4 separate regions of the Homo sapiens genome follow, and all the other regions are linked to region 2. Evidence: promoter capture Hi-C in human tissues and cell types (Jung and others, 2019). All regions are on one chromosome and are shown on one strand. Each heading gives the region's core, a stretch centred on a gene start or on the middle of the fragment in contact. The rest is flanking DNA. Distances are from core to core; before and after follow the strand shown.

Region 1 (2,819 bases), core at 59-2,558, 41 kb before region 2:
ATGGCAGGGGACCTGCGGCAGCCTGATCACATTTCTTGCTTCATCCACTGCTTCACTTGACAATATGGGAGTTGAGCCAGAGTGAGTGATGTAACTGCTCTGAAATAAATGGTGGAGTCCCAGTTTCCTTCTGCATGCTAGTGGATCATCCTTGACCTCAGTTCTCTAAAACCCTTGAAGAGCATCAAAGAAATCCCTGAAAGGGTAGGGAGTCCCCAGAATCCCTTTAAGATGCAAACAATCAAGCTTAGTGTTGCAGAAACCATACAGATCATAGCCAACTACTGCCAAATAAAGCAGCAAATCCCTCTAATTAGAAAGGCCAATTAAAGAATTAAAGGGGAAATTGTGAATCCCTTATCATGGATGATAAAGAATGTCTCTCTTCTTTCTTTGATGTTAATCATCTGTGTGGTATTGTCCTGGGTTAAGTACCCTCAGGACTCTTTATGAGTAGCACTATGACAGAGTGTGAGTCAGCCGGAGCGACACAACTCGAGAGAGAGACAGGGCAATCTAAACCTGAGCGAGAGACGGGGCAATCTAAACTTGTTGGGTGTGTGCTCTTTTTTTCTTTTCTCTGCTTATCTGCGTCTCAAATATGTTTGCTCAGTCTTTTAAACCAATGGCTTCTGAGAATCGTTGTTTTCCTATAGATGGGAGAGTAGTAGATGAGAACACAGGATAGGTTTGTCAGTCTAGGACCTGCTGGTGGTGAGTAAAACAAAGAGATAATTAAACCATCATAGGTAGGTGTACTTGTTCACCTTGGTGCAGCTTCCTAATTCATATTCCTGACTTAGAACTTAAGAAGATTCTTCCTATTGAAACTGTCTTTGCAAAAATTATAACTGAGAAAACAATGACAGTGAAAGATATCTGACCTAACTGACTCCATCTTGCTTCTAACCTCCAAGCTGTCCTTGTTTACCCCTGGGCATAGGGTTAACTAACTTTGGGAGGAACTTAGTTTATAGTTTAACTTTGAAACAAAGATGGTAACAGCCCTTTCCCAAAACAAACCCCCTTCCTGCCTGGGGACTAGACTGCTTTTGAAGGACTAACAAATTAGCCACGAGATTAGAGATTATAGTTTAGGAATCATGCAGCCAGAGGCTGCAAAATTCTGAACCTCTCCAAATTGCTCCTGTGGATAACATCACTATGGTAAAACCTAAGATCAGTGAGTGAGCTATTTTGCAGACCCTGTACGCAATGGATCAGCTGGTACCATCCAGATCGGTAAACTGACTCATCTGGTGTTGTGGTCCCCACCTGGGAACTGACTCAGTGCAAGAGGATGGGTTCAACTCCCTATGATTTCATCACTGACCCAACCAATCAGCACTCCCAACTCACCGGTCCCATCCCCCTAATTATCCTTAAAAACTCTGATCCCTGAATTCTCTGGGAGACTGATTTGAGTAATAATAAAACTCCCGTCTCCTGTATAGCCAGCTCTGTTGAATTAAACTCTCTATTGCAATTCCCCTGGCTTGATAAATTAGCTCCGTCTAGGCAGTAGGCAAGGAGAACCCGTTGGGCCATTACACTATTGACTCTATTTGGGTTCACAAATAGAAAAATGTACTAAATTGTCTTATAAGGGATGTAAAAAGAAAATATTCATTTGAGATATTGGAATGATACAAACCTCTGTCTTTGAACGACTTTTCGTTATGTAACATTGACTGAGAGGCTTACTGAATACCAACCACTGTACTGGTCTGTGTGTTTTCCCTGAATTGTCTCATTTTATACTCACAATGACTTTTAGGATATGTTTCCTTTAGGGTATTATTTTCATTTGACAGATGAGAAAACTGAGGCCTAGAAAGGATAAGTAATTTGCCTAAGGGTACAAATCTAGTAAGTAGCAGAGGAGGAACTTGTCCTAGGCAATAAAATTCTAGTTAGTTAATACATTATGCTACCCTTAATAACATTGCCTTTGTAATGTGTTTAACATAAAGTCCTATTTATATGTGAGGTATTCTTCTTCTTATTATTAATATACATTTGGTTTTCGAAGCCATTGAGATGATACAACAGACGTATTAAAATGTAGACACACGAGAAAATATAAAACAAATTAACATGTTTCTAGTAATATCTTCTTTAAGCCCAATCATTGAGGGGTAGACCTGGCTGTAGCTTCTTCTTATCTTTCATGTATCTTTAAAAAATAAAGTAGATTCTTTTGACCTATCCCCTGAATTTTTATTACAACCTACCAAATATGAAAGAATATACAGTTAAGGGTAAAAGAGAAAGGATTAATATAAACAAAGCTATTTATAATATTATTCAATGCTTTCCTTAAATCATTTGAAAGATTCTACATGAAGCTATAATGATATGATTTTCTTTGAAACAAATTGCTTATTTTCTTGATTCTTAGATGCAAATTTCTTCACATCTTGATGTTTTTTAAACTAGTAGATGCCTTATAATCAATGTGAACACTTAATGTGGAGTTTTTTACCCTCCTTCCACCCTCCAAGAAGCTATTATTAAAACTATGGTGCATCTTAGTATCTTAAAATAGAAGAAATGCAGTAGTATTTTACAATTTTGTTAAGATTTATAATACTAGGCCTGCCAATATAGATCACCCACTGTTTGACTACACGGACAATTAAATTTGTCCAAACTGGCACTTAACCACAACAGAAGAAACAGTAAATATCTTTTAAAATCTAATTTTATGTCTAGATTTGGGTTTGTAAATACCATTCCCTCATTAAACACACACACACACACACACACACACACACACACACACACACACACACACACAGAGGACTGCTTCTAGGGTT
Region 2 (2,790 bases), core at 52-2,551:
ATGTCACCCGAATTTCAGAAAAGTACAGTCTCTGGAGTAAAGCTATTATACACTCAGAGAGACTGTTGTGCTTTGCATGCGTTATATCATTTAGTCCTCAAAACATGTTGTCAAGATTGGCATTATTATCTCCATTTTAAAGATGAGAAAATTAGGTGCAAAGAGCTTCAGTAACACACTCAAACTCATTCAACAATAAATAACTAAAAATTGTGCTATACACACTTTAAGAGTCACATGTTCCTCCCCCAAAATTATGAAAGGCCATAGAAGGAATTCAAGAAGTAGGCTTCATGACTTATCGTTTCTTCTCATCTCAGATGAATTCACTTTAATCTCTCATGCCCAAATTGTAAAATATCATTTTGATCACCGTCAATATTACACAGACCTGTTTGAATGTGCTCAGCTTTTTCAGTAAAATTAGAAGAAACCACAATTTACAAACAGGTATATGTGCATTAAGGAAAAAACAAAAAACTACCATGTGATTTTAGATATGGATGCCAATTCTTAAACATTGTTTATTATTTCTGAGCTCAAGTGCTTAGAATGTTTAAAATGCAATATATTTATGTGGATTTTTTTCCAGGATATTGGAACATATATAAAATATGCTTGTGCATATCTAAGCTTTGTATTTATTTCAGGTTATATGTATACTGAGAAGAATATATAAACAGTGTATGATATTTACATGTTATTTCATTTTTTGAGGGAAATTAACCTCCACAATTATTAACTATGCATAAAATGTAATGGCAGATATGACTTATATTGTATAGGACTGACTACAATTCCTCTTTAGAAATAGCTGTTCTTTGCTTTTATAATACTAGGAAAAGAGGAAAAGAGTTCTTAAAGAAATACAAGGATTCCTCAAGCCCCTCTTCCCTAAAACATGCTCTATCATATCTCCTGGATTGACTGGAATATCCTTCTCTGCCCCCACCCCATCACCCTCTCAATGCAGTGGAAAAGTCGGTGGGTAATTGGGTCCAGATTGGAGGTGTTTAAATATTCATGAGGCTGGCAGGGGACTGGGAGGGGGCGACTGTCTAGAATGGGGGTAGGGGCTGGGGGAAGTGATTAGTCACTGAAGGCTAGAGAACAATTCCGAGAAAGAGACGGAGAGAGAGGGAAGAAAAAGACAGATAGATAGATATTGGGGGGAAGGAGAAAAAAGGAGAAGAGAGGGAAGAGAGGACAGCGGAGAGAGAGCACCAGAGAGAGAGGGAGAGAGAGAGAGAGCGCTAGAGAGAGGGAGCGAGCATGTGCGATGAGCAATAGCTGTGGACCTTACAGTTGCTGCTAACTGCCCTGGTGTGTGTGAGGGAGAGAGAGGGAGGGAGGGAGAGAGAGCGCGCTAGCGCGAGAGAGCGAGTGAGCAAGCGAGCAGAAAAGAGGTGGAGAGGGGGGGAATAAGAAAGAGAGAGAAGGAAAGGAGAGAAGGCAGGAAGAAGGCAAGGGACGAGACAACCATGCTGTGCTGTATGAGAAGAACCAAACAGGTAGAGCTAAAGATTTTTTACTTCTTGCTGTTGTGAAATAACCCGAGTACAGTATTTCCCCGTAAAGGCAAACAATTTTTTTACTGCTTCTGCTCTGGCCGTGGTGCTCGCGCTTCCTTAGCATATGGTAACTGATGGTTGCATCCCAGCTTTTATTCTTTTCTGTCTTTCATGCTCTGGTTTTGGAATGCTGCTACTAATTAGGGTGAGGGTAGAAAAAACATGCCTGTTTGGCTAGAAATAATTTTTTTTTTTCTTATTAGTGAATGCTCAGCATTTGAGGTCTCTGGTCTTGAGGGTGTGGACGTAGAAAGGGGTGTGGGGGAGATGATGTGGGCTCTACCTACAAGATGGGGAGGCATTTCTTTATATTATTTGCAAAAAAGCAGGGTTGAGGAAATAATATTCAGAACTGAGTATTGCCTCTCTGTCATACAATTTTCTCACATGTGCTGCGGAAGATGCCTTATTTCGTGCATGCATGAGCTTCGAAGGGGCGCAGGTATTTATGGAAAAACGTGCAGGTCTTATTTATTTAGTATTTATTTTTCAATGAATGAATGAAACTGTGATTTGATAGATTTTTTTTTTTTTTAAGAGAAGCTAAGACAACTGGGGCTGGGGGAGAAATTGGCCATGCAGAAGGAGAAAATCCCCTTCCTAAGATCAGCAGCCGATTGTGCACCAGCTGGTCGGAGGAGAGGGTGGACCACGCCCCTAGGAGCTCCGATGGGATGGGAAAGACAGCCGGGTATTACCTGTTGGAAACCAGGTCTTTTCTCTTATCCCCTTCCCTTGCTTCTTTCCTGGGATTGTCAGTGACCAGAGACAGGCTAACATCCTGGATAATAAGTATGGTGACTCATTTTCATCAGGAAGAGGGACACATCCAAGATTAGCAAGAATCAGAGCCCCTCCTTCCCTCCCCCACTGCCCAGGTTTTACAGCCATTTCCAATTGCTCGCTTATTTCTTGAAAGACATTTTAGAAACTTGATTGGGGTGAGAGTGGGAAGGAATGACGAGTGTGGTATTCCGCAGCAACCGACCATGCCATGGCAGTCTCCAAAAGAAGCTTTCAAACATTTGTTGGAATGCATTTGAGTGATTTTGGCAAAGGTTAAAGAGAAAAATGGGTGTGGGATACGGGTGAGTGTGTGCGTATGCTTGACTGTGGTGGGGGTGGGGGTGTGGTGGGGGCAATCTTGGTCAAAGAAGCCCTTCGCAGACTGATTGCCTTAGGGGTGGGGTGCAAGAGATGGAATTTGGGTATAATTTCC
Region 3 (2,855 bases), core at 339-2,838, 63 kb after region 2:
TCTGTGACAATACTTTGAATGAATAATATTATGCCTTAGATAAAATCCTAAACTGACCCAGGAAAATGAATACAGAAGCTCATTGGAAAGTTTAGTGTTACTCAGGCCTGTAAGTCATCCCTGAGGTTGCCAGAATTCAAACCATTTAGGGCTTCATAGACCAGTGTGAGCATTTTGCATTATATTCAGAAACATATTGAGAACTAGAGGAAGTCAAGGCTGCTCCCTACTGAAAGCAGGTGATTAATTTCACTCCAGCCACATGAATGACCTGTGGGTGGCCCTTGCTAGTGTGTGACAGAAACACCCAGGGAAGAAATGATTTGCCAGGTTCCTTGGCTTCCTTTCCTCATCTGACACAATTAAGTAATCTTTGCAAGGTGTGTAAGAGTCTATTGAACCTGCTGTTGCTCCACTGTAGGGTGAATTGTTATTGTGTTCCCAAACCAACAGTGTTGGGACACAGACCAGTAAACAGGCTTTCCCATTCCTTAATGCAAACATAATTTGTGTACAGCCTGTGAGCTATTCAGATTACAGACCATGAGGGACATTGCAGTGGGAGGCTGAAAGGATTCTTCCCTACACAAAAACTGCAACTTAAAGTCACCCTCATGTATTTGGTAAAAAGACAGAATGTGCCCCACTTTGTGAAATTCTATTCCAGTTTAAAGGGCTAAGAAAGCGCAGAGTTCAGTAATGTGGTTTCAGTGTTCTCCCCATTGGTGTAATCAAATCCTTTTAGAAGGAAAACCAGCGGTGGAAGATTTTTTTTATTTCCTCCTTCCTCTTCCTTTGATATTGGTGGTTTAATTATAATAGATTCATAAGAGAACCTGGCCCCTATTGGAAGATATGTTAGTTTTCTTTTTCTTGCCACCAAGGTGTAAACCATTCATTATGATTTTATCAGATATCTGCAGCGGCATGCTGGTAAACTGGCTCTCCAAAAAATAAAACAAAACTCTAACAGCCTTTATTTGTAGTTTTTGCCAATTTCTATGGTATAAATACTCCCATCCTAGCTGATTTCAGGCTACCAATGTGTAATCTCCAAATAAGCAGTTGGGAAGAAGTGCTAATATCTTGCTGTCAGCAGCCAACGTTAGTCAGCTCCAGCATACCCCAGATCATTATATTTTAGCAATTTGATTAATTTTATTTTGATAATTCTAAAATACTAAGAATAGTAATTATCAACTTCCAAATAATGTATCAGTGTAGAAGCATATAAATATACATTTGTAAAACCACATAGTTATGTACATATATATGTGATGCCATGAGAAGTACTTTCAACATTCGCAGTCATTTCTGTTGAGCATTGTACACTTGCTAAAGGTTAAGGAAGAAAAGTAAAGTTTAGAATTGGTATTCTTGTATTCAATTAGAAAAGCAATTGCTACTGAAGGAATTTGTACATTGTCCTCAAAATTTGATCTGAGCTGTATCTTTTTAATGCATTGAAAGGCTTTTCATCTTTTTTTAAAGGAAAGTGCATAATTTATTATATTTATGAGGTTATAATAAAATGGATACTTAGGAACTTTAAACATGAGTTAAAAGTAATCATCAGATATAAAATTCTCAAATCTTGGAACCCAAAATACTAAATTTTAGAATTTTCTTAAAACCTCTTTCTCATGATTAACTTAGTTTGAAAATTATTATGTTCTTTCATAAGAAAAGAAGGAAAATTTAAAAATAGACATGTTGATGGAGGCAATAGTTCTTCTCAGCTGGTTTTTCGGAGATGATTTCAGGGTTCAGATTGATTTGCAACCATTTAACATTTAATGCAGAGGAAGAGTTGACTATTTCCTTCCCTCATACTAATTTTTAGTGAGAAAGATGCTTTTCGTGCTAGGAGGAACATTGTGAAACAATGTCTTCACAGAGGTAGAATCAGATGAGTAAGTAATTGCTGAAGGCAGACATTTTCAAAATTGTTAGCCTAGGCACTATTTGCTCAAATGAGTTTAAAATATATACACTAAACCCCAAAGCAGAGAAGCTTTGGTTGAGAATGATAGGGGAAAGTGGAGATGACTGAAGATGTCCTGAAATCCCCCCTCTTTTTTTTTTTTTGCATCTATCCCTACCCTCTAGGTAGATCATTTCTGAGCCTTGAAGTACAGTTTGAAAAATGCAAATTTCAGAAATTTCTCAGCTACTTATTGTCTACATGTGGACAGCAATAAAAGAGTCAATGCCAATCGATCTCATTTACTGTAAGCTGATCTTCACAATGAGTATGGATAACTGCACCCATATTGATGATATAGTAGATTTTGTGTATTACTTATAAGGTCAACAGAAAATTGATTCATATTACAGTCCTATTGTGTAGTCGCAGATAGGACTGGTGTGAGTAACTTCTAAACATGGCTTTAGGCAACTAACCACTGTTCCATTTAATTTTAGTTCCACTGGTATTAAAACCATGCAGAATTTATTTTCTAAATGATATTTTACAAATCATAATCCCAAAGAAAATTTATTTTCTAGAATCCTCAATCAATGAACTTTGAGTTGTGTTGCTGGAGCCTGGAGTTCCATGGAGCAGCATCTCAGCAGTAGTTTCTGGGAATTGCGGTTGTTTTGCAGAGGCCAGGTTAACAAGGATTGGGTTCCTAGGATTGGGGTCCTATCTCGCAATCCCCTACACCTCTACCAAACTATTTCGTGATCTTGGTTAAACTTTGATTTCACATTTTAACTAATAATAATTAAAAATTACTGTTTTAAACTTAAGACCAAATTCAAAAGGTCTTCAATCTTGGCAAGATTAAAACTCAACATAATTCAAAACTCATCTTTTCAGGCAGGCATCCAATCTGTACTTAGCTTGAATT
Region 4 (2,923 bases), core at 271-2,770, 47 kb after region 2:
CTGGCTAATTTTGTATTTTTAGTAGAGACAGAGTTTCTCTATGTTGGTCAGGCTGGTCTCAAACTCCTGACCTCAGGTGATCTGCCCACCTCAGCCTCACAAAGTGCTGAGATTACAGGCATGAGCCACAGCACCCAGCCACTTTCACCAGTTTTGCTAGTGAAAACGCATATAAGCAGGGAGCAGTGCCTCACACTGTAATCCCAGCACTTTGGGAGGCCGAGGCAGGAAGATGGCTTGAGTCCAGGAGTTTGAGACCAGCCTGGGTAATATGGTGAAATGTTGTCCATCTCTACAAAAAATATAAAAATTAGCTGGGCATGGTGGCACATAGCTGTAGCCCCAGCTATTTGAGAGACTGAAGTGGAAGGATTGCTTGAGCTTGGGAGGTCAAGGCTGCAGCAGTCATCTGAGATAGTGCCACTGCGCTCCAGCCTGGGTGACAGAGAGTGACCCTGTCTAAAAAAAAAAAAAGAAAGAAAAAGTACACACACACACACACACACACAGAAAAATAATTTTATTGATATGACTCTAACGAGTCAATAGATAAATATAAATCAGTTGTCTTTATCTTAGATGTATTATTATTTTCAAGTGCTTGTTTATTATTATGATCAATGGCGTTTCTATAGCTTTGCTATTTCTTTTCTTGTTAAACCTCTGCTTACTAATTTCTATAATTGGGGAATCATATACCTGTTGTAGTTAGATGCTCTTGAATTCCACCACTGAGAAGTGAAGGATTTTAACAAAAATTGACAAAATCGAATCCAGATTTCTTCACCTGTCATCATCTTTCTGAAATAGCACTAATGGAGATGCTCAGATTTTGGATTCATCCAATAAATATTAATTGAGCATCTACTTTGTGCCAGGCACCATTCTAGAAACTGGCATTCAGCTCTAAGTAAAATAGACAAGGTACTTCTCAAAGGCTGACTTTTTTTCTGTTTGAAGGCATCAGTTGCAATACATTATTTACCTCTTCTATGTCTTTGTGGGACATAATAGGGTTATAGATATACAAAATAAAAGAAAACAACTTTTCAGACTGGAAACTGAGTTCTACTCTGATAATGCTTTATACTATGTTGAAGATACCACCTCATATTATTTTGGAAGCAGGTGGGCTGTACATGTTGAATAAATAATACATTAAAGTGGACTGAAGACCCATCTTTTGATCACCAGCTCTTATCTGAAAAGTTAACATTACTACTGCAGTTTCCAATATGAGATATTTTGTTTTCTTATACAGTTTCATTGCTTCTCTGCGCACTCTGCTCCCCATTCCCCTCATACCCTAGGTATGAGGTCTTCAAACCAGACTGCATGTTGGGGGATCCGGTGTATGCCCACTGTGCTTATTCATCTTTTTATTTTTATTTTTTTTTTTTAATTTTTTTTTTAATTTTTTTTTTTATTATACTCTAAGTTTTAGGGTACATGTGCACATTGTGCAGGTTAGTTACATATGTATACATGTGCCATGCTGGTGCGCTGCACCCACTAACGTGTCATCTAGCATTAGGTATATCTCCCAATGCTATCCCTCCCCCCTCCCCCGACCCCACCACAGTCCCCAGAGTGTGATATTCCCCTTCCTGTGTCCATGTGATCTCATTGTTCAATTCCCACCTATGAGTGAGAATATGCGGTGTTTGGTTTTTTGTTCTTGCAATAGTTTACTGAGAATGATGGTTTCCAATTTCATCCATGTCCCTACAAAGGACATGAACTCATCATTTTTTATGGCTGCATAGTATTCCATGGTGTATATGTGCCACATTTTCTTAATCCAGTCTATCATTGTTGGACATTTCATCTTTTTAAAGGACACTTTCTTCCTTACACCTGCACCGAAACCGGCAGTGACATTCCATCTATAGAACTGGAGGAGGCTGGCCCACTGTCTTCTCTCTCCTCCCTAAGGGGTATTTTACTGTATTTTTGATCTTTGTCTAGGTTTAAAGAAAGTACAGAAGCTCCACTGTGAACTACTTTAATACTTGCACATTTTCCCTAAAGTCAATTGCCATGGTATCAATGATGCTTAAAAATAGAGTGAAATTTTGTTATGTGACTTTCACCTCAATAAATTATTAATAAAAAATAAAGTGGGCCATAAGTAGGTACTTCCCAGATTTTATTTATATTTATCAACACTTTATTCTGGTTCCTTTACAGGCTGTAGAAGATTCTGATAGGCATGAAAACTACAACATATTTAAAAAAACATTGCTTAGGATATCTCCGGCCTTTCAAGTTTGTTCTCAAAAATAACTTTGCTTGATCAAATGAACTATATTTTGGTTTACTAAAGATGTTCTCAGAAAGAAGAATATGTGTACATCAATGATTTGTAATGCATTTAAAATTCAATACTATTTTTTAAAAATTTAAGTATTATAATGGTACTATTTATAGCTAGCAGAAGTAGATATAGGGCCAAGTTTTAATTTGCTTGGAAGGTTGAGGCATTCCTATGATAACTGGGAAAAGTGAAATGCATTGAGGTATCCCAGATGAATGGATGATGTTATTTTTAGTTCTGAAAGTTAGCCATTCATGGATTTTTGCCTAGAGCTCTTTTGTAACATATTGAATGCAAATGTTTGGACATTTTAGAATAAATCTTAAGTTGTCCATTCCTCCTTTCCCCAAAGGAAAAGAAGACCAGAGCAACAATGTTGGATACTTAAGTAATTACTTCTTATTTCTGGCTTTCTTATCTGTAATTCTTAAATATCAATTAAAATCATTGTTCATTCATCTAATGGATTTAGAAGTTTCATTAGTGTCAACAAGTTAGTGTAATGGTACTCTTCATTTTTTCCAACCAATATTCATCTGAGATTTTAATGTTTGTTTAAAAAGTAGGGATGTCCTACACCTTGGTTTCCTTTAAGACTTCATAAAT

The links. The method cuts DNA at HindIII sites, captures the fragments that hold promoters and counts their contacts. A contact is called where the count stands out against the background at its distance.
Region 1: a contact is called between a fragment that was not itself captured here and the fragment with the promoter of GAP43 in region 2, in 2 of the 25 tissues and cell types used here (neural progenitor cells and pancreas).
Region 3: a contact is called between a fragment that was not itself captured here and the fragment with the promoter of GAP43 in region 2, in 1 of the 25 tissues and cell types used here (mesendoderm cells).
Region 4: a fragment that was not itself captured here is called in contact with the fragment with the promoter of GAP43 in region 2 in 1 of the 25 tissues and cell types used here (thymus).

The regions. Positions count from the first base shown.
Region 1 is chr3:115,581,458-115,584,276 of GRCh38, forward strand. No RefSeq gene overlaps it. Among named protein-coding and RNA genes, the nearest start is that of GAP43, 41 kb to the right of the region's middle. The HindIII fragment of the contact is 6,224 bases long and covers 1-2,819 here.
Region 2 is chr3:115,622,209-115,624,998 of GRCh38, forward strand. GAP43 (growth associated protein 43) reads left to right here and starts at 1,302. Exons shown (of 3, transcript NM_002045.4): 1 at 1,302-1,511. The coding sequence starts at 1,482. The HindIII fragment of the contact is 4,830 bases long and covers 1-2,790 here.
Region 3 is chr3:115,685,041-115,687,895 of GRCh38, forward strand. All of the region lies in intron 2 of GAP43 (growth associated protein 43), which reads left to right. Among named protein-coding and RNA genes, the nearest start is that of GAP43, 63 kb to the left of the region's middle. The HindIII fragment of the contact is 8,363 bases long and covers 1-2,855 here.
Region 4 is chr3:115,668,584-115,671,506 of GRCh38, forward strand. The region is part of intron 1 of GAP43 (growth associated protein 43); the gene reads left to right. Among named protein-coding and RNA genes, the nearest start is that of GAP43, 47 kb to the left of the region's middle. The HindIII fragment of the contact is 4,688 bases long and covers 1-2,923 here.